Linked DNA regions of Homo sapiens: region 1 is linked to region 2. Evidence: promoter capture Hi-C in human tissues and cell types (Jung and others, 2019). All regions are on one chromosome and are shown on one strand. The core of a region is centred on a gene start or on the middle of the fragment in contact, and the rest is flanking DNA. Distances in the headings are between cores, read along the strand shown.

The links. Contacts are between HindIII fragments. The study calls those that stand out against the background at their distance.
Region 1: a fragment that was not itself captured here is called in contact with the fragment with the promoter of PIRT in region 2 in 2 of the 25 tissues and cell types used here (H1 embryonic stem cells and dorsolateral prefrontal cortex).

What each region holds. Positions count from the first base shown.
Region 1 is chr17:11,272,174-11,274,873 of GRCh38, forward strand. All of the region lies in intron 2 of SHISA6 (shisa family member 6), which reads left to right. Among named protein-coding and RNA genes, the nearest start is that of SHISA6, 32 kb to the left of the region's middle. RefSeq lists an enhancer at 1,613-2,114. The HindIII fragment of the contact is 5,649 bases long and covers 1-2,700 here.
Region 2 is chr17:10,836,719-10,839,418 of GRCh38, forward strand. PIRT (phosphoinositide interacting regulator of transient receptor potential channels) reads right to left here and starts at 1,369. Exons shown (of 2, transcript NM_001101387.2): 1 at 1,227-1,369. RefSeq lists an enhancer at 180-681 and a silencer at 2,378-2,602. The HindIII fragment of the contact is 18,169 bases long and covers 1-2,700 here.

The DNA.
Region 1 (2,700 bases), core at 136-2,635, 440 kb after region 2:
CCATGGACACCAAAGCTCTGCCTACTCAAACACATTTGGGTCCTTATGGGGACTCACTCTCTGTCTTCTATAGCTCCCCAGCCATGCTCTGCTCTTTGCTTGGTCTGGAATGTTCTCTTTTCGTTCACTTTCCCTCAGCCTAGCCTGCTCTTCCTTATCTCCCAGGCTCCCGCGTGGCTCTCACTTCCCTGGCTCCCTGCCCGGGGGCCTTTCTCCACTGGTCCTTGGTGGCATCCTGGGCTCCTCCGTCCTTGCAGAGAGGCAGTGGAGCGGGCTGACTAGGACTGTTGGCCCCAGTTTGGAACCCCGCTCTGCCTTCACTAGCTGGAAGTAGGGCTTGATCACTTTACTTAACCTTCCGTGCTTCAGTTTCCTGATCTGTAAACTGGGTATAAACTCTCCTACTTGTGTTGTGAAGATTGACTTAACCACCTCTGGGCTGTCTGGTTTCTCTAAGGTGTGTCTGGTATCAGCATAGCTCACCTGACAATCTCTAATCCCTGGCTCAGAGCCTGGCATACTCAAGCTGTCCAGTAAGTACTCACAAAGTGACTAGCAATGATGTGAACCCCATATTTGGGTCAGAAGTCCCAGTAAGTCCCACGGGGAACAGTAGGTCATATGGCAGAGTCACGAAGGTTTAGGATGAAAGAACAGAGCAAGTTGAGATGTCTGGAAACAGCTATGTCTTTAGACTGCTTTGAAACAACCTGGAATCCAGATCCAAGGTGGTGGCATGCCAGCTGTTTTCATGGCTGGAGTGTGATGCCTGAGTTCCTGTGTCTTGTTGTAGACACTCGTGCCCCTGGCCTGCCAGAGAGAGTGATACGGCTCCCAGGAAAGCTGGAGAACGCTGTTCTTCAAATCATATTAGCAACTAACAGTACTTTTAAAATGCTTTCCATGGACTGACCTATCTAATTCTTGTAACAAGCCCATGAGGCAGGTACCATTATAATGCCCACTTCATAGATGAGGAAACAGGTTCAATGGGGATTAGAAGCTTAACCAAGGTCACACAGCCAGGAGGGGGTGCTGACTGATCTGGGCGCTAAACACAGACCCTAGAGCTCAAGCCCTGAGGTCAAATTGACCAGAGGTACAGACAGGGCCCCGGGAGCCCCCTCCAGCTACGTGAATCCTGTTCTGAAGCCGTGTGTCTACACTTCTCATTTGTCCCAGTGCATGGATCTAGGGCTGTGGGGAGGACACCAGAGGAGGCCACTGCTTGCTCAGCACAAGGGCAGGCGTTCTCCTGATGTGAGCCCCTCTGCTCCAGGTCGGACCACCTTGCCATGCAACGAGCTGCTCACTCCGTGATGATTTTAAGCAAAGGAGAGGAGCAACTTGGGCATTTCCAGCTTGAGAGGAAGGCTGGCCTAGCAACTTCCAAGGTCCTACTTTTCGTGTGTCATAATAGAAACAGTAGCTGGGATTTGTTGAGGGCTGACTGTCCACGCCCTGGGCTAGGAGCCTTCATTATCATAGTCCTCGTGTAGGCAGTGTCCCCCTCCCAGTAGATAGGAGGCTACAGCGACATGGAGTGATGGGCAGCCTGCCCGCAGGCGCAGGGCTTGTCGATGTCAGGGTGTGGTCTGACCTAGGCAGCCCAGTGTCCAGGACTCACTCTCTCACTGGCTGCACTTCTCTTGGGATTCTGTGACCCAGGGTCAGAGCCCAGGCGAAACTTATGGCCAAATCACCATTCTGTTCTCAGTGCCAGGCTTGTCCTGCGAGGAAGCGCATCATTTTATGCCATTCAGGAAGGGAGTGCTAAGCACCTGTGTTCTTCTCCTGGGACATAAGTGGCTTTTCTCAGCATAGGATTGCCTTAAGGACAGGTGTGCCCAGAAGCAAAGCTTTCCAGAAGCCAGAGGAGCTGCCCTTGTGATGATGGGACCAGCTGTGCCCAACTTGTCCCACCCTTAGGGCTTCGTCCTGCCTGGTGGCTGCACAGGCTTGGCCAGAAAGGACCCATCCCCTGCCCCTCCCATCAAGGAGGCAGCCCGAATTGGGGACAGAGAGAGCCTACTTTCCCCACGTGGCCGGGGGAGAAAGGAGAACCACGGAGCTGGCTCACTAATCACTCACCCCTACACCCAGGGAGCCAGAGGATTTAGAATATGGCCGGGCTGTTCCCAAAATGAGGTGCCGGTCAGAGGGAAAGCCAAAGCACGGAGGACAGGGTTAGAATTCGCAATTACCTCCATGAGTTGGCAAAACGAAGGAAGCAACAGAGCGCGGTGCAGTGACAGGAGCGAGAGGGTGCTGGGCAAGGGCGGCCCTGAGCAGCAGGAAGTGAGGGAGAGCAGCCATATGCTCCTGGCCCCCAGGGATGTGGAGCGTGGAGCTCTCACCAGGAGGGAGAGCCCAGCCTCCATCTGAGTGGCCTTTAGCGGTCTTTTCCTCATGGGCTTAATGTCCGTTGCCTACAGAGTAAAGGCTATTTGGGAAACCAAAGATGGAGGAGGAGACGGCATCCGTAGCTAGATGTGCCACACCAACTGTGTACTGAACACTTCGTTAGGGCCTACAGGAGCTGAAAGGTGGATTAGACACAGTCCTGGCCTCAGGGGCTTAACTCCAGGAGCAGAAAGACGAGACAATACAAGAAAATAATTGACTCTACAGGTGCCCCTCCAGAATTATAGGCCACATGCTCAGAACGCTCAGAGGGAGGTTGTGTGGTCGGAGTGATCA
Region 2 (2,700 bases), core at 119-2,618:
AGAGGAGAGAGGCACACATTACCTCACTGCTGGGAGGCTGGGCCCAGCGAGGGGAGTCTGGGGGAGAAGCGGGGAAGGCAGGATGGAAGTGGTGGGAATAACACCATGTATTATTCCTGTGGAAGACCCAGAGTGGTAAGAAGTGGAGGGTCCTCCTGTTTCCCTCACGGAGTCCCCATTAAGGCCCCACCCAGCTCCAGCTTGCCAGTGGTCATCCCCACGGTCCCTTATCTTCTCTGGCGGTGCTGTCTTCCCCTCACCAGGACATTCAGTTGGTGACTGTCCACCCCTCTGATAAGGTGAGTGGGGGCCAAGTGTCTGGGCTAATAGAAGCTAGAGGGTTTCTGAGTAAGCCGCTGCTGTCACCATGGCCATGGCCACCCATCTGTCACCTGCTCATAGCGCTTCTAGGAAGGGAAGTTTCCCAAAGGTCACAGTCAACCTAGAGGGTGCCACCCACCTCCCTTGTTGGGCCACCCGGCTGGTGCCCAGACCCTGGCCAGTGACAGGGTAGAAAAATAGCTCGGGCGATTGCGTGTGTGACCACGGCTGGCTTTACCCGGATGCAGGGTTCTCACGGCACACAGTTGCCTGACTGAGCCACGTCTTTGTCCGTGTTTGCATGTGCCTGCCTTGTTCCCCCTGTCTGAGATAAAACTCCCGAGGCAGCCAACGCACTCCACCTTGTTTTTCTGGCACCTGCCCCAGACACCTGCCACAGCTGCAGGAGGAAGACATTGGCAGCTGCAGAGGTCTGACACAGGGTGCTCAGGAGGACGGCTGGGGTCCGAGATTCCACCCATGTACTCTGGGGTCTGGGGGTGGCCTTGCACTTTCCTGTCTGGCTTTTTTGCTTCTTCCACTTAGATTTGGGAGGAGAGTCCCTGCCCAGCCCTTCCCACAATGGCTGCTAAGAGTGAAGGCTGGATGCTATAGACGCAGGACTGAAGCAGCTCTCTGCCCACAAATTCCCTTCTTCCCAGTACACAGCAAGGGGCGGCCCCCCTTCCTCTGGCCACCACTGTCTGCCAAGACCCTCAGCAGGCAGTGCCTCCAGGCTGACTTCACCCCCTCCCAGGGCATAGCCCCCTTTTCTCCGCTTGTTGTTCATGCTTGCCTTCCAACCCCAGTTTAAAGACAACACGCTCCAAAGCAAAGTTAAAATCTGCTCCTTCCTTCAGCGAGATGGAAGGAAGGGCAGAAGGAAACATTCCCTCCTTACTTACTGTCCTCGATGTCCCAGGGGAGGATGGGGGACCTGGGAATCACTTGGTGCTCGTGCAAGGAGGAAGCCGGCAATGAGTTTCTGCTCAAGTCCATGCCAGCCAGAGAAAGCCACCCTGACCACGTCCAGAAGTCAGTGTGTTGTGAATCCCAGCAACTGAGCAGGCTCCAGCAGGGATGGATGAGCTCACCAGGCAATGGCCTAATGGGTTAACTCTTTGTGAGCTGCTGGCATGGGTCCTCGGACTGTGGCTTTCTCAGCTCTGCTCAGCCACAATTAGATGAATCTTGTGAAAAATTCATGATGCTTCTCTGCAGTCTGTCTTCAAGTTTCATGGAGGCGTGCGTTCCGTTGGTGCCTGGGCAGGGCAGCTTCTCCTGACCCAGGCTCAGAAATCAGAGGACCTGGAGTTTCTGGGTTGGTGGAGGTGTGTAGTGGCCATGGTGGTGGGGATGAGTTGCCAAAGAGTGGATCAGACCCTCCGGCTGACTCAGGCTACACTGGCTCTGTTCAGTGCAGGCCTTAATAATTTGATCTGGGAACTCTCTGTGTTCTGGATGTTGGAGGGGGCACATGCAGACTTAGAAAACATCCTTGGTTGCAAGATGGCAGGGACACTTCTTGGAACTTTCCAATGCACGGGTGGGCACCCTATGTTACAAACTGCCAGGAGCCCACAACACGACTTACCTCCATCCCAGGCCTGACATCTCAAATAGAGGCAAAAGAGCTTGTTCCCCATCGCTCTTCCAATCATTCCTCATGGTGCCCTGTTGCTTTTTATGGGATGCCTGCTGCCACAATGATGAGAAGAGAATGATGCAAATCAGTGCAAGGAGGATGAAAAGGTTTTCTCCTCTATAAACCTTTACCAGACTGTGCTTCGGGAAGCTGGGTGTGAGCTGTTGAGTGGCCAGTTCTCAAGATGCTGACGGATACACTGAGGTCAGCAAAATTGCCTATGATTCTGGAAGGCATGCTGGCTCCTGCCCTGGCCCACACTAACCTGAGAACGTGGGCAGCTGTTGTTCCTCAGGATAACTGGTGGGTGGGCATCCTTGCTACTGGGAACAGTACCCTGAGGGGCTTCCTCTGTGGTCTGCCGGGAGGGCTTTCCTAGGAGCCATCCAAGGAAGCTGCTGTCAAGGCAGGTATGAGACTCTCCCATATTTGGCATCTTGAGTTCCTCATCTGTGCAATGAGCAGGAGATTCTGAGCCTAGAAGGCTCTGTAGAGGTTGCTGTGTGATCCATGCCTAGAGAAGCAGAGAGCTAGGAGGATGAGCCTGTCCCCTGAGCTGCTGTGAGGGATCAGGCTGAGTACGCCCTCTGTCCTCTGTGAAGATGAGCGTCTCTGCTCAGGGCAATGAGCAGGGAGAGGCCTGCCTTGAGTGTCCAGGGGAACTTGACTTTGAAGGTTTTTGAGGATGTGAGTTGCTTTGCCTTAGGTGCCTCTGACTTTATACTCAAATCAGT